Linked DNA regions of Homo sapiens: all the other regions are linked to region 4. The links are contacts of gene promoters, found by promoter capture Hi-C in human tissues and cell types (Jung and others, 2019). All regions are on one chromosome and are shown on one strand. The core of a region is centred on a gene start or on the middle of the fragment in contact, and the rest is flanking DNA. Distances in the headings are between cores, read along the strand shown.

Region 1 (2,700 bases), core at 82-2,581, 630 kb before region 4:
AGGTGGGTGAATCACCTGAGCTCAGGAATTCGAGACCAGCCTGGGCAACAGCTGGTCTGAAATTAGCCAAGATGGTGGCTAATTTCAACATTTTGAAATACAAAAATTAGCCGGGCGTGGTGGCAGGCACCTGTAATTCCAGCTACTAGGGAGGCTGAGGCAGGAGAATCGCTTGAACCCCAGAGGCAGACGTTGCGGTGAGCCGAGATCGCGCCATTGCACTCCAGCCTGGGCAACAAGAGTGAAACTCCGTCTCAAAAAAAAAGAAAAAAGAAAAGAAAAAGTTCTGGAGATGGATGGTGGTGATGGTTGCACAACAATGTGAATGTACTTCATGCCATTGAACCACACACTTAAAAATGGTTAAAATGGTTAATTTTATGTTGTGTACATTTTGCCACAATAAAAAAGAAACACGGGCCAGGCACAGTGGCTCATGCCTGCCATCTCAACACTTTGGGAGGCTGAGGTGGGCAGATCACCTGAGCTCAGGATTTTGAGACCAGCCTGGGCAACAGCTGGTCTGAAATTATCCAGGCTGGTGGCTAATTTCAACATTTTGAAATACAAAAATTAGCCGGGCATGCTGGCAGGCGCCTGTAATTCTAGCTACTAGGGAGGCTGAGGCAGGAGAATCACTTGAACCCAAGAGGCAAAGTTGCAGTAAGCCAAGATTGTGTCACCACACTCTAGCCTGGGCGACAGAACCAGACTCTGCCTAAAAAAAAAAAAAAAAAAAAGGAAGAAAACACTTGGGGACCTAAAACCACAACGCTTTTCGAGTTAGAATTTTGGCCAGCTCATCTCTGCCCTATATGGTGTCTGCTGGGACAGTTCAACTGGGACCGAAGCATCCAAGATGGCCTCCTTTGCCACGCTGGTGCTGGCTCTTAGCTGGGATGCCTCTCTTTTCCTCCATGTGGACTCAACCTTCAAGGCTTCTTTCTCCACGTTGCTGCTGTCTACAGCTGGACAGCCTGAACTTCTTTACAAGGCAGTTGGGTTCTCAGAGAGAAAGCAAAAGCTCTAGATCTCTTAAGATCTGGGCTTGAAGTCCCATCACCTCTCAGTGGTTCAGGCGAGTCATTTTGCTGGTACGGATCCTGCGTGGGAGGGGAGGACACACGGGTGAATTCAGAGGGGCATGGTTCCTTTAGGGCCATTTTGTAACAATCTACTACAGCCTCCATGCCAATTTATTAGCATTTCTCCATGCTCTGCCTTATCTTGAATTCTGTTCTAGTACAATATCTCCAGATTAGCACATAGGGTCATTGTTAAGACGATGGACTTTGGCCTAAGGCTTCAAATCTTGGCTCTGCCATTTGTTGACTGTGAGACCTTTGGCCAGTTCTTTACTCTCTCTCTGTTTCAGTTTTCTTACCTATAAAATGGGGATGACAATAGTCTTTATGTCATCGTGTTGCTGTGAGTATTGAATGAATATGAATAAAAAGCTTAGTAACAGTGCCAGGCACAAAGTAAGAACTATATAAGCGTTTGCCATTATTGTTATTGTCATTGTCGTTGTTATAATAAACATAAGAAGCAGCATGGTGGAGAAGGGAATATTTAGAGCTAAATAAGACAGAAAGGTTGGAAACGCTTGGATACACAGGACCTCCCTGCCTCACAGAGTTCTCACTTACATCTAAATCCTTTGCTGACATTTAAGCTTCTTTCCTTTTGTTCTCTACACAGGAGACATGGAGAACAGCTGATCAACATCTCTCCATAATAATCCTCTGAACACCTGAAGACAGCTGTGAGAGCTTAAAGATTTGCTGAGGCTAATCTGGGTACAGGTAATTGTGTTGATGATATGTTCAAATGCATCTAAGTCTATGCCTGAGTATAGTTGCTGGGTTATAAACAGGCACGTCACACTTCTCTTATACACTTCAGGAAGCTGGAGCGCTGGGTCTTGTTTTCCCTGAAGGCATTAGGGAATGTGCCTGCTCTTTTTCAGAGCGTAAACCTGGAATAGGTTTCCAACGAGGACAATGCAAGCCAGGGCTGAGAGGTGCCATGTGTATGGCACACTGCTGGCCCCAAAGACCAGTTAGGCCAGGAACCAATCCTGTTGAACAGTTAATTAGCACCTATTGTTTATTACTGTGAGTTCTTTCTGAGCTTACCAGTGGCCCTTTTGCCTAATCCAATGGACACTTTTCTTTTTTCTTTTCTTTCTTTTTTTTTTGAGATGGAGTCTCGCTGTCACCCAGGGTGGAGTGCAGTGGTGCCATCTCAGCTCACTGCAACCTCTGCCTCCCAGGTTCAAGCTATTCTCCTGCCTCAGCCTCCCAGGTAGCTGGGACTACAGGCATGAGCCACCAAGCCCGGCTAATTTTTGTATTTTTAGTAAAGTCAGGGTTTTGCCATGTTGGCCAGGCTGGTTTCGAACTCCTGACCTCAGGTGATCCACCCACCTTAGCCTCCCAAAGTGCTAAGATTCAGGTGTGAGCCACTGCGTCTGGCCCCAGTAAGCACTTTTCTATCCTCAGCTTCATGGACAGCCTTGCTGCATTTGCCATCTTGTCTTATTTTGGAGTGAAGCAGTACATTGTGATGTATTGGAGCCAGAATGCCTGGATCCAAGTCCTAGCTCTGCCCTTTGCAGCTCCATTGACCTTGAGCAAGTTACTTAACCTTTGAGTTTCATCATCTTTATCTCCATCTATAAAATGGGACTGATAATAG
Region 2 (2,700 bases), core at 87-2,586, 800 kb before region 4:
TGAGGCAGGAGAATCGCTTGAACCTGGGAAGCGGAGGTTGCAGTGAGCCGAGATCGTGTCACTGCACTCCAGCCTGGGCGACAGAGCGAGACTCTGTCTCAAGAAGAAAAGAAAAGAAACCAGAAACCCAGCAGGCCTAGAGCATCAACTTTTTCTAAAGAGGTTCAGTGGGTTTGAATGAAGTTTCTAAGTCTTGAGAGTCCAAAAAGGAAACGTTCGTTACAGGAAGGGAGTATGTTGGGGTGGGGGATCCTCCTTGCCGGCCCTGAGCCAGTCCCCTAGCAGCTGGAGCATCTGGCGGGAGCACCTAGCGGGAGCACTTCACGGGAGTGCGGCCGGGTGGGGCGGGGCCACGCGCCTCCCCAGCAGCCAATGGGCGGCCGCGGCGGGCGGGGCAGGGAGGGCGCAGGGAGGCGCGGGCGCCGCTCTCTTCAACTTGAGCCCGGGGCAGTGCGCGCGGCTGCTTGAGCGACGGCACCGCTGGCTGGTGCCGGCACCCTGGGGCTTGTCGTAGCACCTGGGGCGGCATCCCCGCCCGACTTCGGAAGGACCGGGAGGCAAAGGTGAGGAAGTTGGCGAAGGAACGGCTCTCCTTTGTTTGCAGGTGCGTTCAGGGGGAACGGGGGTCGAGCCCAAGCTCGCTCGCGGGGACAGCGAGGCGGGCGCGGGAGACCTGCGGGACAAAGGCTGCGCCCTCCCTTCCCCGAGTCAGCGCTTAGCGAGTTGCCTGGTCCTGGACGGCTGGAAGGGCTGAAGAGGGGGCTTTCTGCCCCGCCGGTGGGAAGAAGGAGTGAGGCTTGTATGAAATGGGGGGGAGGCGTCCTTGGACCCCCAATTCGCCAGTGCAGCAGGACTGTTCGGGGTGGGCTATTCATTGATGGGGTCTGCACGGGGCATTTCTGCCGTGGACAGCGTTCTATGATTGAGGCAGTGACTGCCTTCGCCTCACGTGCCCCCTGGTGAGGCCACATTTCTGTCTTCCTGTCTACATTAGGACTGAAAGATATTTCAGGGTTTTGGTAATCCAGTATTTGGATTAAAAGCAATATCCTTTCGTGTAGAAAAACTGTGCATTTCCAAATGATTTTAGTTACACGATTTAGGATATTGGTGTGACTTCCATGCGAGAAAATATCTCAAATTCCCCAAATGTAGAAACGCAGCCAGCTCTTGGCATTGAGAAAGAAGTAGTGTTTTTGAAAAGAAAGGCGTGAAGATTTAAATATTGCTTACAACACTCTATTAGCTTGTGGGGGAATCTGTGCCTTTTCTATTATCTGTTTCCCTATACCAATATTGTAACCAGGCACGTCTATGGATTCCTAATTAATGTGTAGCTGTGAATCTTCATTACTGCCTTGGGTGGGAGAAGGCGGAAGGAGGGGGCAATCCCATTAGTCTTTTTCTTTCTTTTTATAACTGCAGCTGCAGCCTGGCTTTGACTTGTATCATGAATGGGGGTTCTGCCTGCTTTCCTCATGCTGTTCTCTTTTAGGTTTTCTTAGGCCATTGAGCAGTTGGCCCTTCCTCCAGCCGAGCTCTTACACAAGAGTAGTTTGTAAGATTCTCTCTAAAGTTCAGATCCTTGCTGCTGCCTTTTAGTTAGTTGAGTTCAGAAAGGAATTATTAAGTGTCCTGAGGCCTTTCCTAAGAAGTTAGAAGCAGAATGTGTTTGTAAATGTGGTCTGTAATTTTGTAAAAGTTATAAGTAAAAGGGAGTGTGAATGAAATGCTTAAGAGGGGAAAGACTTTCCATAAAGCATCAGCCAGTATTATCAAAGAAGGTGTCATGGTTTGTAGCTCAGTAAGAACCCTACTTTCCGTTTTGCTTCCTTTTTTTTGTTTTTTTTTTTGAGACAGAGTCCCTCTCTGTCACCCAGCCTGTAGTGCAGTGGCACAATCTCGGCTCACTGCAACCTCTGCCTCCCAGGTTCAAGTGATTCTCCTGCCTCAGCCTCCTGAGTAGCTGGGACTATAAGTGCACACCACCACACCCGGCTAATTTCTGTTTTTTTGAGTAGAGACGGGATTTCACCATGTTGGCCAGGCTGGTCTCGAACTGCTGACCTTGGGTGATCCACCTGCCTCGGTTCTCCCAAAGTGCTGGGATTACAGGCATGAGCCACCATGCCTGGCCTCATTTTATCATTCTCACTTTGCAGATGTGAGAAACACACTTTTCTAACAGCCGCCACGTTGTTTAGTTCTAGCTTTTCTGCAATGGGGATAATTTATTTAATAAGTATTTATTGGACACTTGCCATGTGCTGGGCATTGGTGCTGGTGATTAAGTGGCATAATAAATACAACAGGTGTCTTCTTCCTTTCTTGGAGCTCACACTATGCTGGCGTGGGGCCCATTGCAGGTTCTCTGCACTGGAGCATCCCTGGGAAGCAGTGTGGATGACACCAAGGTGAGACAAGAAGATACTGCTGCTGATGGCCGCCTTGGAGGTCAGCTGAGCATGTGGCAGTAGGCGCAAACAACGAGGGGCCTCAGGTCATCTGCACTCCAAGGGTGGAAGTATTAATCACACCAGTGGGCCATTGGGCACTAAAGTCGGTCATCTTGAACTTGCTTACTTTGATCTCAAAGGAGCCTGCAGCTGCAAGGAGGGGCAGAGCTGAGTTCTAAAGAGTTTGAACATTGGCATTGTTGATTTCAATGGGGTAATTCCAGTTTGTTACAAAACTATCAGT
Region 3 (2,779 bases), core at 149-2,648, 740 kb before region 4:
TTACTTGTGTCTTTTATGCTATAGATTAATCATTAATCATGGCTTGCCTAAAATAAAATCAATATTCCTCCACGTTTGCCATATCATATTCTTTTTTTTTTTTTTTAAACACACAGGGTTTCACCATGTTGCCCAGGCTGGTCTTGAACACCTGAGGTAAAGGTATGTGCCCACCTCAGCCTCCCAAAGTGCTGGGATTACAGGTGTGAGCCACCGCACCAGGCCAGCCATATCATTTCTTAAATCCCAGCACTTTGGGAGGCCAAGGCAGGTGGATTACCTGAGGTCAGGAGTTTGAGAGCAGCCTGGCCAATACGGTAAAACCCCCATCTCTACTAAAAATACAAAAATTAGCCTGGCGTGGTGGCACTTGCCTGTAATCCCAGCCACTTGGGAGGCTGAGGCAGGAGAATTGCTTGAACCTGGGAGGCGGAGTTTGTAGTGAATCGAAATGGTGCCACTGCACTCCAGCCTGGATGACAGAGCAAGATTCCATCTTTAAAAAAAAAAAAAAAAAAAAAAAAAAAAAGAAAAAGGCCCTATGGAATCTTGGTTAAATTTGTAAGAAGTCAGGCAATTTTATCATACTAAAGTATAATTTTAAAAAGTAGAATGTCTTTATACAACTTAGAAAATAATATTTTTCCTTTTAAAAAATATTTGTTTGAGTTGTTTAGAAGAATCCTTCCTTTTCTTACCTGTAAGGTTGTCCTTTATTCCCAAGGTCTTGAAATTCCAGTGCTTTCTTAACAACAGCTTCATTTTCTTCTGGAAAAACTGAACATGTGCAGTAAACAACTGCTTGAGCTTTAGTAACTATATTAGAAGAAGATGCAATGACTGTAACAACTATATTAACAATCCTATACAAATGTGCTATGTTTCCAAACATCTATTTGATACTAATACCACATGGTTTTGATGAGAATAATTTCCCCAGATGCTTGAATGGCTCCCCTTTAAAGTAAAAGCTTGTCTTAGTAATTTAGTCTGTGGCCAGTAAGTAAAGTCACTCTAACTGGATTGTATGGAAATTGAAAATTCAACAAAAAATGAGGCCAACTTAGTTATAAACACAAATAAATAAATACTGCAGGTTACCATGAACTTGATACTTCTGCCCATTCTTCTACAAGCGATATTGCCTAAATAGTTTAAAGGACTCTAGAAACAGACAGACTTAGAGGTGAATCCCAGTTCTGTCACTTACTGCTGTATGAACCTGGGCAAATTACTTAAAGTCTTAAATTTTTCATCCGTAAAATGAGGTAATACTACCACCTGCAATTCACTCATTGATTCATACTTATTGAGCACCTACCACCTGCCAGACAGGCACTGTTCTAGGCTTTGGGATACAATAACACAAACAAAAATCCTTGCCCCTGTGGAGCTAACTTTCTAGTAGAGGAGAAAGACAGTAAGACAGAGATAAATAGGAAAACTATATAGTACTGTTAAGTGATCAATGCTATGGAGAAAAGCAGAGCCGGGTGAGGGATAGAGAGTTCCAGGAGAAATAGTGTGAAATAGAGCAGTGAGAGAAAGCATTGTTGAGATGGCAAACTGTGGGTAGACTAGATGGAGATAAGGAACCAGCCACAGAGCTATTTAGAGAAAAGCATTCTAAGGTAAAGGAACAGCCAGTGTAAAGGCCTGAAGTCAACATGGTGCTGGTATGTTCCAGGAAAGTGAAGGGGCCGGTTTGATCAGAGCAGAGGGAATGAAGAGAGAGTAGTAAGTCGAAGTCAGAAAGCATGGTCTGAGCCCCAGATAGTACAGGGACTTGTGGGCCACCGGAAGGGCTTAGGTTTTTACTTGGGTTATGATGGGTTTTAACAAGATCACTCCAATTGCTGTGTTAAGAATAGAGTGCAGAGGGCAGGGGCAGAGGCTGGCAGAGAAATTAGGAGGTCATTACAGTAATTCAAGTGTGAGGTGATGGTGGTTTGGACACCGTGGTAGTGGTGGAGGTAGCTGGATATATTCTGGATATAAGTTGAATGTAGAACCTACCTCATACACTGACAGACTGGCTGTGGGTATGAAAGAGAAATCATGGATAATGCTAACGTTTTTAGCCTAAGCGGGTGGAAGGCTACAACTATCATTAACTGAAATGGCAGTACTGTGGGAGGAACAAGTATGGCGGGAGGAAGATCAGAGCTTCCACCTTAGACATGTTAGCTTTGAGATGACTATGAGTCCCTAAGTGGAGATGTCAAGAAGGCAGCTGGAAATATAAGCTTAGAGTTTCAAGAGGAAGTTTAGACTGGAAATACAGATTTGGGAGTCACATAGAGGTGTTTAAAACCATAAGACTAGATACAATCACCAAGGGATAAGTATAGGCAGAGAAAAAAGATCCAAGGCATGGACTGTGGCACACTCCCATGTTAAACAGGGTGTTGAGACAGAGAGGACCCAGTAAGGGAGACAGAGAAGGGGAGGCCAGAGAGAAGGCCTGGAAGGTGGTGCCCTAGAAGACAAGTGATGGAAGTGTGTGAAGGGAGAGGAAGCGACCACTTCTGTCAACTGCCACAGACAGACCTAGGTAGACCAGGGCTGGCAACTGACACAACAGCATGGGGATCACTGGCGATCTTCACAGGACCGTTTCAGTTTAGTGGCAGGAGTGAACGTGTGATGGCAATAGCTCAAAAAAGAAGGAGAGGAAAGACTGAGGAAACACTGTTCCCAGGGGAAAGGCAAGTTACAGGAATTTTTTACAAAGGGGGAGGACATTCAAAGAAGTTAAAATATAGGGAATTTTTGTTGA
Region 4 (2,700 bases), core at 201-2,700:
ACACGATGTTTACATTTCCTAAAGCGCGTCTTTTAGTTAAAATTAAAGGATGAGAGTTAAAACGAGTTACAAAAGACAGCTGGTGTTTGAAAGAAAAACACTGGAAGTAATAAAAACGGAGTGAAAAGGCTGATGTTGGGATTAAAAGAAAACATTTTTTTAATACAGCTGCAAATCAGTCATTGTTTTCTGAGAGGCTAGGTTCATCTCCAGGATTTTCTTCTAGGAGCTCAACCAATGGCCACCTTTACTGAGTTAACCAGTCTCCAGGCAAGCAGCCCTTGCTGATTGGCTCAAAGATGTCGAGTAGAAAAAGCAGCCAATCCTGCCTTCAAGCCAGAACTGTGCCATGGAGACATTACAACCACTGCATGGCGAGAATGTGTACAAACCTGTCCGTGCCACAAATATCAGATCCTAGTTACAAAGACTGCCGCCGAAAGGAAGAGCCTTTGAAGCCAACACTGACACTGACCTGTCATCTACATTCTATTACTCTAGCTCTCTTTCGGAGGGAAAAAAAAAACTATTTTAACCAAAAGCGCATGAGAGATAAACTGTGCCCCCGCTAAGATGACTCACTCTATTGAGGATGAATTTCCAAACGGACGGCTTAGAGAGAGTCCCGATGAGAGAGGGGCTCTAGAAGGGTCCCATTGAGGGACAAAGTTGCAGATGGGGGCAGGGGAGGCGGGACGAGGGCCAAAGACACACAAATGCCGGGGAGGGGAAAGTCTCCCCGCAGTCTCCAAAATCCGAACGTGTGAGTGGCTGTGTGTCTGGACTTGAACTGAGTAAATAAACGGCTCTGCTAGGACTATGTGCTCAGGAAGGTGGCCTGAAGTTCCCAGAAGGCTCCGCCTGGCAAACACCTAAGGCGCCTGGAGGGGCGCAAGGTCAGGTCCCGGCGGGAACAGATCTGGGAGGAAACCTCGGGGGGTCGAGAGGGGTGTGTCTGGGGCCTGGAGGCCCGCCAGGCACTCGGAGGCCAAGGAAGCGGCCGCGGCCCCCGCCTTCGCCCGGCCTCGGGCTGAGCGCCAGGGCCCGCCTCTCGCCGACGCCTCACTTCCCTTCCGTCCGGGCAGCCGGGCCCGCGGGTCAGATCGGAGGCGGCCCGCGCCGGGCCCCACATTCAGGGCTTGGGGGTTCATTCGCCGCGCCGCCCGCCGCTGCTTCAGGCCCTCCGCTTCGGCTCGGAGCCCCGGGACCCCTAACCTCCAGGGCCCTCACCTTGGACCCGCCTCCCTGCCTCCCACCCGCCGCCTTTACCTGCTTCTGGAGCGGGCAGAGGGCGTCGAAGCCGGTGCCGCGTCGTCGAACGCACAACGCGGCGCCGCAGGTCCGCAGCCCTTTCCCGCCGGCGCCACTGCGCTCTCCCGCGCCGCGCAAGGCTAGCAAGCAGCTGCGGCCGCGGGGGAGACACGGCGAGCGCGCCCGGCGGGGAGACACTGCCGCTCTCCGTCCGGCCGGGGAAGAGCAGCCGCGCAGAAGCCCGCCGCGAGAGGGCGGGTGGGCGGCCGGGTGGGGAGGGGTCTCGAGGCGCCGGCAATGGCTGCCACGTCGCCCAGGTGGATCGCCGCCCACCGCCCCCCCCCAAGCCCGCCGGCTGTCCGCCACGACCTCTGCTTCGTCCCCGAGCTCCGCCTCGGCGCGGCGGCCCGGGGGACTTGAGCCCGCGGGCGCTCCCACCTCTCCCGCTCCCGCTCTCCCGTTGGAGAGCAAGCCCTGCCCGGCCGGTTCGGCTGCTTCCGGTCGCCCACCCCCCAAGTCTCGCCCGAGAGCGGGCCGTGGTCCCCACTTTTCTTATCAGGGGGTCCCTGGAGGAGCAAGCCCTTCTTCGAGTGTCGGGTTCTGCTTGGGGGGAAGGCGGGAGCTGTTTGGCGCTGGGGAACATTGCAACAGGCCCGGAATTTTTGCCAAAATAAGCGGCGCGGTAAACCACAGCTGTTTCTAGCCCTCGGCACTCTCCCGAGCCCCAAAAAACAAAACAAACACAAGGTCGGCCTCGCGAGGTGAGGGGAGAAAGGAAAGCAGAGCTGGGACGAGCCCTGACGCGCGCGGGGTCCAGGCTGCAAGTTGGGAGGGACGGCGAGGCGAGCGACCGGCCTCGGCATTGCCTGACTAGGGCCGTGGCCGCTGCGGCGGGCACGGGAACCCGCCTTCTCGCGCGCGGCCCTCCCGCGGGGGGCTTCCGGGCGCGCGGCCTCGGAGCCCCACGGGGAGACAAAGGGGTAGGCGACTGCCACGGGGTGGAGGGAGGCTGCCCAGCCCCATCGGCCCTGCCAGCGTGCGGTCTGAGCTCGGGGAATGTGTGCGCCTTAGCCGGTGGAACCGCAGCCGCTGGCCTTTGCCCCCAGTTCGAGCTTGAGTTTTCGGATGCCAAGAAAAAGCAAAGACGTGCTCTTCCCTCTTGCGACCGCTGTAGTATGAGTCCGTCCCCAAGCCTGCACCATTTTTTTTCTCTCAACTCTGCTTTCCCTGGTTTATTTGTTCTGGGTTCTGATGTGAAATGTTTAGTGTTTTCAGGGTACGCAAATTTTTCACCTTTGCTTTCTGGTTGGTGGTGGTGGTGGTGATGGTAGTGGTGGTGGTTTTGCCTGTTTTTTACTTCCTCCGTCCCCTCCCTTTGCGGTTACTTTTCATTCCACTTGCAGTGGTTTTTCCCAGAATAGAGAAGCGAAATAACCTCATGACAAAGTG
Region 5 (2,700 bases), core at 125-2,624, 670 kb before region 4:
ATCCATGGAGACAAAAAGTAAATAGTGTTGCCAGGGGATGGTAGGAAGGAGGAATGAAAAGTGACTCCTAGTGGATACAGGATTTCTTTTGGGGGTGATGAAAAAATGTTCTGGAATTATATAGTGGTGATGGTTGCATGACTTTGTGAATATACTAAAAACCACTGAGTTGTATACTTTAAAATGTTGAATTTTATGGCATATGGAGTTATAACTCAATAAAAAATTGTAAGAGTAAAAAGTGAGAATGTATGGTTGAAATCAAATCCTTATAGACTACCCAATAAAATTAATTTCATCTAATTTATAAACATGCAGGTGACATCAGAGCAATCCTTTGTAATGCTATTATATAGCATATATTTACCTGGCTTAAAATTTAAGTATAAAATTAGAAATTGTTTACCGTCCTCATGTGAACCTGGGGAAAAAAATAAAGTTGCAATTTATGAATAATGGAATGAAAGAAACTGCTGGTGGTTCCAACAAAATTGGTCCAATTGAAAATAATTTTCGGCTGGGCACAGTGGCTCACGCCTGTAATCCCAGCACTTTGGGAGGCTGAGGTGGGCGCATCACCTGAGGTCGGGAGTTCGAGACCAGCCTGACCAACATAGAGAAACCCCGTCTCTACTAAAAATACAAAATTAGCTGGGCATGGTGGCGCATGTCTGTAATCCCAGCTACTCGGGAGGCTGAGGCAGGAGAGTTGCTTGAACCCGGGAGGCAGAGGTTGCGGTGAGCTGAGATCGCACCGTTGCACTCCAGCCTGGGCAACAAGAGCGAAACTCCATCTCAAAAAAAAAAAAAAGAAAGAAAATAATTTTCATAACTGATGAGCACATATTTATTAAGCCTTTACCATTTGTAAGACAATATGATGAGCATTTTGATAGGTTATCTACCATAAGGCCAGCATGATGCAAGGCTCTGTGAAGCTTACATATATTTTTCTATTATCAAAGAGATAATCAAATTGAAGGCTGTAAACTTTTTTTTTTTTTTTTTTTTTTTGATACAGAGTCTCACTCTGTCCCCGGACTGGAATGCAATGGCGTGATCTCGGCTGACTGCAACCTCTGCTTCCCGGGTTCAAGTGATTCTCCTGCCTCAGCCTCCCAAGTAGCTGGGATTACAGGCACCCACCACTATGCCTGGCTAATTTTTGTATTTTTAGTAGAGATGGAGGTTTTGTCTTGTTGGCCAGGCTGGTCTGGAACTCCTGACCTCAAGGGATCTGCCCACTTTGGCCTCTCAAAGTGCTGGGATTACAGGCGTGAGCCACTGCACCCGGCTGCTGTAAACATTTAAAACAGAATTTAATGTGGCCAGGCACAGTGCTTGTAATCACTGCACTTTGGGAGGCTGAGGTGGGTGGATCACTTGAGGTCAGGAGTTTGAGACTAGCCTGGCCAACATGGCAAAACCGCATCTCTACTAAAAATAAAAAAATTAGTCATGCTAGTGGTGGCACACGCCTGTAGTCCCAGCTACTTGGGAGGCGGAGGTTGCAGTGACCGAGATCGCGCCACTGCACTCCAGCCTGGGTGATAGAGTGAGACTCCGTCTCAAAAAAACCAAAAGCAAAAACAAAAACAGAATTTAATGCTACTTTTCAGAGTAGACAATATGTGATCAAGCTACCATTTAACTTGACCATTAATTTTTTTTTCCCGGAAAGAACATAATGGATTCTGGATTCTGTAGTCAGAGACCAACCTAGGTTCTGATCTTTAGTTACTAGCCATGTAACCTTGGACAAGTCATTTAATCTCTCAGTCTCAGTTTTCTCATCGGCAAAATGGAGATAATAATATTTCCTATCTTGCTGGGTTGCCCTGGGTTTTAATTAAGGCAATGTAGATAAAAGTTTTAGCATTGTGCCTAGTACCTCATAGACTTCAATTAATGTTAAATACGATATTTAGGGAAAAGATTATTTGATCAGCTATTTTTTCCAATTACAATTCATAAAGCAGCCTTGGAGATGGAAGATGTATCTTTACCTTAAAATAATGTCAATTTTTTTTTACTATTACTTTTCATTACATATTTCTGAAAACAAAAACTAAAAATGTAAAAAAGTCTTAACTAAAAGATAGATTTTGAATAGAGGCAATTAAAATATTTTATGTAAGACAGGTTTTATTTATTTATTCTTTTATTATTTTTTTTTTTTGAGAAGGAGTTTCGCCCTTGTCACCCAGGCTGGAGGGCAATGTTGTTATCTCGGCCCACTGCAGCCTCCGCCTCCTGGGTTCAAGTGATCCTCCTGCCTCAGCCTCCCGAGTAGCAGGGATTAGAGGTGCCCACCACCACGCCCACCTAATTTTTGTATTTTTAGTAGAGAAGAGGTTTCACCATGTGGGCCAGGCTGGTCTCAAACTCCTGACCTCAGATGATCCACCCACTTCAGCCTCCCAAAGTGCTGGAATTAGAAGCGTGAGCCACCACACCTGGCCTATTTATTCATTTATTTAAAAAAAATTTTTTTTTTAAGTAAGACAGGTTTTAAAATGTTGACTTGCCCCTGGCACAGTGGCTGACATCTGTAATCCCAGCACTTTGGGAGGCCGAGGCGGGAGGATCACTTGAGCTCAGGAGTTCAAGACCAGCCTGGGTGATATGGTGAAACCCCATTTCTACAAATACAGAAAAATTAGCTGGGTCCGGTGGTGCGTGCCTGTGGTCCCAGCTATT
Region 6 (2,893 bases), core at 67-2,566, 830 kb before region 4:
TCTGCAAGAAAGCGTTTCCCAGGCTTGGCTGGACCGTTTCCTCGGTGGAAACACAATCACATGGAACACACTTCAGGAAATATTGCTGTCATTAGTAAACTCATTCATTTAAATTCGTGGCAACACTAAACTGCTATTTTTGATTATTAAGAAAAATTGGAATTACTTTTAATGAATATTATAAGTGGAGACCCCATTGGGCCTGCTCTAATGAAGATAAAATTTCTTCATAATGAATGGCAACTATGAGAAACACACTCACCCATCCAAACCCCAAGAATGGACTTAGAGGCACGAAGAACAGTGAAAGTGAGACTTTTTAATAACAGTCTTGCGAGATCGGGTATCTGGTGGGCAGGCACACCTGGGACAGTCACAACAGGTAATTTATCTCCTAGCACGCCAGTCCCTCCCCCAATTCCTCACTGGCCGAGTACTATGGGGCTACAATCTTCCTGGACATTACCTAAGTTTCATTATCCCCCTTATAAGGTTATACCTCATTCCCTTCCCCGCTTAATTTTCATTTCCCAATAAGAAAACTTTCTTCCCTTTAATGGGCTGACCCCTCCTCTACATTCTGTTAGCTTATTGTGACTTTCTAGGTGCATGAGCCATGTGGTTTGTTACATTTGCAGCCTGGCTGCCAGGACTTAGATTTATCATGCCTTGAAAATGGACCATTTAAAATGTTTTCTCACACAACCATCAACAGTCATGATGTGTGCAGTGCTTTTTAAACAGTGCTCTCTTATTCAGGTTCAGTGTTTACCCTGTGATGTTGCTTATGCTTACAGATTGTGTAGCCAAACTTCTCTTCCTTGAAGGTGTTTAATACCTTTCTTTTCTGGTTTTGATGAACAACTTTTAATAAAATCTTTCTGTGTCATAGATTATTCATAAATTTCCAAATGAGGTTATCTTTGACTTGATTGTTCTATCTGATTATGATCTCAGGAACTTTTGTCTAAAGAATATAGTGTCCACTGTACCGAATTTTTTTTCATATTCTCTTCTAAGGTATTCCCAGCTGTATTTATCCACCAAGACCCTGGCCCAAGTTGTTTTATTTCTTTTTATTTTTAGAGACAGGGTCTTGCTCTGTTGCCCAGGCTGGAGTACAGTGGCGTGATCATCACTCACTGCAGCCTCCAAATTCCTGGGCTCAAGCGATCCTCCTGCCTCAGCATCCTGAGTTAGCTGGGACTACAGGTGTTTTTTTTATTTTTATTTTTGTAGATACGGGGTCTCACTTTGTTGCCCATGCTGGTCTTGAACTCCAGGCTTCAAGCAGTCCTCCCACTTCGGCCTCCCAAAGTGCTGGGATAGCAGGTGCGAGCCCCTGTGCCTGGTTAGGATGTTTTAAAAAAGGCCTTTGTCACATGTACTTTATGTTCTTGTTTTCATGCCAGTGCTGTTCTGCTGCTTTGTTTTGACTTCTTTTGAAAACACTGCTTAATTTTGTGGAGGAGTTCAGGGATCCTGAGGAATATTGGGATTAATTATTTAGAATATGCAAAACTTTGACTCATAGGTTTTTAGATTTAAAAGGTGCTTTAGTATTAGTGTCTTTCAGTCTCTTTATTTTAGAGGTTAGGAAACTGAAGACAGAAGAGTGTGATTACCTTAGGTGACCCATGTAGTTTGTGGCAGAGCAAAAAACACACCCCAGGTATTTTTGCCAGCCCAAATGGGAAGCTACTCTGTTCATCTTGACAAGAGATGGTGAATGGTCTAAATGTCCCGGGGTTGGCAGGGGAGGAGAGGCTGGGTCAGATACGTCCTAAATACTATGTTAGGCAGCAGCAGGACACAGAAGGCTATGGCATGGTCCCTGTCCTTACAGTCTGGCTTCTTCATTGAAGAGATAAGACCACATGAGTGAATGGAAAGCAAAGGTGGACACACCATGTTCCTGAGCCTCGTTTTTGTGGGTCCATGAGCTGAGAATAGTTTCCACATTTTCAAAGCATTAAGAAAAAGAACGGGGGACCCAGATATGGGAACTCAGCACAGCCCAGCTCTTCATAGAAGGAACATTTGAGTAATAACATACTCAGAATGGAACGAGGCGATCTTTGTAGCTGCTGTATATAGAAAGTCGTTGTGGAAAGGGCCCATTTTTTTTTTTTTTTTTTGGCAGTCTCTATCTCCCTTCCTAGCCATGTCTTCTACTAGCAGCATTCGGGGGTCCCTGAAAGCACGGCTTAGCCTTGCTACTGTTCCGTAGAGTTAAGCTTGAGTAAGTTTTTCTTTTTTTTCAGATTGAGTTTCACTCTTGTTGCCCAGGCTGGAGTGCAGTAGCATGATCTCGGCTCACTGCAACCTCCACCTCCTGGGTTCAAGCAATTCTCCTGCCTCAGCCTCCCAAGTAGCTGGGATTACAGGCATGCGCCACCATGCCCAGCTAATTTTTGTATTTTTAGTAGAGGCGGGGTTTCGCCGTGTTGGTCAGGCTGGTCTTGAACTGCTGACATCAGGTGATCTGCCCTCCTCGGCCTCCCAAAGTGCTGGGATTACTGGTGTGAGCCACCGTCTCGCTCTGTTACCCAGGCTAGAGTGCAGTGATGTGATCATAGCTCACTGCAGCCTTGAACACCTTGGGCTCAAGTGATCTTCTCACCTCAGCCTTCTGTGTATTATAAAAGGGTATAGGGCAGGCTGCTGCCACAAGTACTCTGCAGTCCACTGGCTTCAGTGCCAGAGGTTAGTTCTCATGCCACAGCTGCAGTGGGCACTGCCACCTGGAAGAACAGCTCTGTGCCACTCAGGGGTTCAGGCTCCTTCCAGATTGTTGCTCTGCCATCCCTCAGTTGCCGTCCTGGCCTCACCAGACCAAGTGACTTGTCTCCAAGTTAAACACACCTGGAACTTGCGTACCTCAGGTACACTC
Region 7 (2,723 bases), core at 111-2,610, 640 kb before region 4:
CACCCACCTTGGCCTCCCAAAGTCACAGACGTGAGCCACCGCTCCCAGACTTATTTCTTTATAATAGAATACAACCCATTAAGCTTAGCAAGCAGAAAAAAAATGGAGCATAGTCCTATTCTTCCATATTCTTAGGCAAGCTCCTACATTTCTCCAGGTTTTGATTTCATGCTCTACAATTAGCGGTGGCAAACTAAGAACTGAACATCAAATCCAGCCTACCACCTGTTTTTATATGGCCAGTGGGCTAAAGATAGTTTTTATATCTACAAATTGAAAAAAAATCAAGAGAAGACTAATATTCTGTGGCATGCAAAGCTATATAAAATTCAAATTTCAGAATCCATAAATAAGGTTCTTATTGGAACACAGACAGGCTAATTTGTTTATGTATTTTCTGTAGCTGCTTTCACACTACAATGGCAGAACTGAGTACTATGTAAGTTTTTAAATAAATGAAAGCAATTTAATTGTTTTTCATCAATTGAAGTATAATCTTTAAAATGAATTTGGTAAAACCTCCTCACTTGAGGTCGGGAGTTCGAGACCAGCCTGGCCAACATGGTGAAACCCTGTCTCTAATAAAAATACAAAAAATTAGCCAGGTGTGGTGGCCAGTGCCTGTAATCCCAGCTACTCGGGAAGCTGAAGCATGAGAATCGCTTGAACCCGGGAGGAGGAGGTTGCAGTGGGCTGAGATCTCACCACTGCACTCTAGCCTGGGCGACATCTTAAAAAAAAAGTCCTAGCTGTTTCCTTCAAGTACAAGTTCAGGTTTTTAAATGGATGTTCTAACATTCTCTTTTCAATCAGAATTTCAACCACAAAAATCAGAGAAAGATGAGTCAGAGTCAAGTCTACCCAACAGGGAGTCAGAATGGAATTCTTGAGTAGATTCGTCCCAAGTTTCAATTTCTACCACTGATTACCCAAGAAATATGGCACTTAACTTCTTCGAGCCTCAGTTTTCTCATCTGTAAAATGGCAGTAAACATAGTTATCTCTAGGGCCGAGCTAGTACATGAGAGCATCCCAGGTATTATTAATTTAGTGTCTTTATTTCAAACCAATATTCCTTAAATATTTATTTACTGTTAGTGGGAGTGAAGAGAAATTGTTTTCCTATTGACAAAAATAAATTGCTCATCATTTTTTAATGTTCAAAATATTTCTTACATGAAGTTATTTTGAATCACCTTTTATTTTGCAGTTTTTTGCATCTCTTGGAACTGTCAGTTACTCTTAGCCACCAAAGATTAGGCCAACATATATAGATATATTTATTAAGTCTAATTCAAAATACATTTGAGATGCTGGGTGCGGTGGTTCACCCCTGTAATCCCAGCACTTTGGGAGGCTGAGGCGGGCGGATCACCTGAAGTCAGGAGTTCAAGACCAGCCTGGCCAACATGGTGAAACCCTGTCTCTACTAAAAATACAAAAATTAACTGGGCATGGTGGTGCGGGCCTGTAGTCCCAGCTACTCGGGAGGCTGAGGCAGGAGAATCGCTTGAACCCAGGGGGCGGATGTTGTAGTGAGCTGAGATGGCATCACTGCATTCCACCCTAGGTGACAGAGTGAGACTCTATCTCAAAAACAAAACAAAAACAAAAACAAACCCCTCCCATCTTGTTCTTGTCTCTGTGTGTGTGTCTGTATGCTCACATATACATGTTTGTGTGTATACTTTCCTGAAGCAGACCTTTTGTTAAGGGATAGATTAAAGCTGTTATAATTTAAATGATAAAGAGTAAAGTCCTCCTCAGTAAAGAACACTAAGCCCATGCATTGTTTTGCTCCAGATTTGAATCTCCCCTGGCTGCCTTAGGCCTCAGGGTTAGTGCCCTGTGGTCATTGAACTTGTAAGCCCTCCAGATTCTGAAAAGACACAGATGCCACACTAACAAGAATTATCTTTTATTTGCATTCAAGGGCTCTGTATGATCTGATGCGATTGAGACCAATTTACATTTTTAAAAATGTTTAGACGTATATAGACATATTTTTTTTTTTGGCTGCTCCATGGACAGAGCAGGGCCATCCCACAGGCAGAGTAGCCCAATTTACATTTTGCCTGTTGAGTAGGGAATGGGGGTGGAAATCTGAGTTAATGGTCATCAGATTTCTGATTTATTACAATGATCTTATAGAATGGTCTCCTTGAGCTGACTCATGGTTGAATCCTATGAGGACTAAATAAGATAATATGTACATAAGGCCAGGCGCAGTGGCTCACCCCTGTAATCCCAGCACTTTGGGAGGCCAAGGCTAGCAGATCACTTGAGGTCAGGATTTCAAGACCAGCCTGGCCAACATGGTGAAATCCTGTCTCTACTAAAAATACAAAAATTAGCTGTGTGTGGTGGCATGCACCTGTAATCTCAGCTTCTCGAGAGGCTGAGGTGGGAGAACCTCTTGAACCTGGGAGGTGGAGGTTGCAGTGGGCTGAGATCGCACCACTGCACTCCCGCCTGGGCAACAGAGTGAGACCCTGTCTCGAAAAAAAAAAAGTACATATATAAGATACTCTCTTACTACCTTACTGCTTGACACAAACTAGGCACTGAAAGAAAGGTGATTGACAGAGTCATTGTCACCCTGTTGCAGATACCTCCTCAGAAACAGAAGATACATCAAAGCACGAGGGAGATGTGAGAGGTAGGCTGTCCAACAGAACTCTCTGCAGTGATAAAAATGTTCTATATTTGTGGTATCCACTATT

Evidence for each region. The method cuts DNA at HindIII sites, captures the fragments that hold promoters and counts their contacts. A contact is called where the count stands out against the background at its distance.
Region 1: a fragment that was not itself captured here is called in contact with the fragment with the promoter of N4BP2 in region 4 in 1 of the 25 tissues and cell types used here (IMR-90 fibroblasts).
Region 2: a fragment that was not itself captured here is called in contact with the fragment with the promoter of N4BP2 in region 4 in 2 of the 25 tissues and cell types used here (H1 embryonic stem cells and thymus).
Region 3: a contact is called between a fragment that was not itself captured here and the fragment with the promoter of N4BP2 in region 4, in 1 of the 25 tissues and cell types used here (spleen).
Region 5: a contact is called between a fragment that was not itself captured here and the fragment with the promoter of N4BP2 in region 4, in 1 of the 25 tissues and cell types used here (aorta).
Region 6: a contact is called between a fragment that was not itself captured here and the fragment with the promoter of N4BP2 in region 4, in 1 of the 25 tissues and cell types used here (spleen).
Region 7: a contact is called between a fragment that was not itself captured here and the fragment with the promoter of N4BP2 in region 4, in 1 of the 25 tissues and cell types used here (lymphoblastoid cells).

What each region holds. Positions count from the first base shown.
Region 1 is chr4:40,681,072-40,683,771 of GRCh38, reverse strand. No RefSeq gene overlaps it. Among named protein-coding and RNA genes, the nearest start is that of RBM47, 53 kb to the right of the region's middle. The HindIII fragment of the contact is 3,688 bases long and covers 1-2,700 here.
Region 2 is chr4:40,854,889-40,857,588 of GRCh38, reverse strand. The region is part of intron 12 of APBB2 (amyloid beta precursor protein binding family B member 2); the gene reads left to right. Among named protein-coding and RNA genes, the nearest start is that of NSUN7, 110 kb to the right of the region's middle. RefSeq lists a silencer at 270-469. The HindIII fragment of the contact is 9,079 bases long and covers 1-2,700 here.
Region 3 is chr4:40,796,824-40,799,602 of GRCh38, reverse strand. NSUN7 (NOP2/Sun RNA methyltransferase family member 7) reads right to left here. Exons shown (of 12, transcript NM_024677.6): 10 at 699-816. Among named protein-coding and RNA genes, the nearest start is that of NSUN7, 48 kb to the right of the region's middle. The HindIII fragment of the contact is 5,844 bases long and covers 1-2,779 here.
Region 4 is chr4:40,055,600-40,058,299 of GRCh38, reverse strand. N4BP2 (NEDD4 binding protein 2) reads right to left here and starts at 1,450. Exons shown (of 18, transcript NM_018177.6): 1 at 1,270-1,450. It also overlaps the pseudogene LOC344967. RefSeq lists enhancers at 389-488, 589-638 and silencers at 829-1,178, 1,229-1,688, 2,029-2,238. The HindIII fragment of the contact is 26,276 bases long and covers 1-2,700 here.
Region 5 is chr4:40,724,128-40,726,827 of GRCh38, reverse strand. No RefSeq gene overlaps it. Among named protein-coding and RNA genes, the nearest start is that of NSUN7, 24 kb to the left of the region's middle. The HindIII fragment of the contact is 4,923 bases long and covers 1-2,700 here.
Region 6 is chr4:40,882,956-40,885,848 of GRCh38, reverse strand. The region is part of intron 12 of APBB2 (amyloid beta precursor protein binding family B member 2); the gene reads left to right. Among named protein-coding and RNA genes, the nearest start is that of NSUN7, 130 kb to the right of the region's middle. The HindIII fragment of the contact is 4,774 bases long and covers 1-2,893 here.
Region 7 is chr4:40,697,992-40,700,714 of GRCh38, reverse strand. No RefSeq gene overlaps it. Among named protein-coding and RNA genes, the nearest start is that of NSUN7, 51 kb to the left of the region's middle. RefSeq lists an enhancer at 1,431-2,204. The HindIII fragment of the contact is 4,986 bases long and covers 1-2,723 here.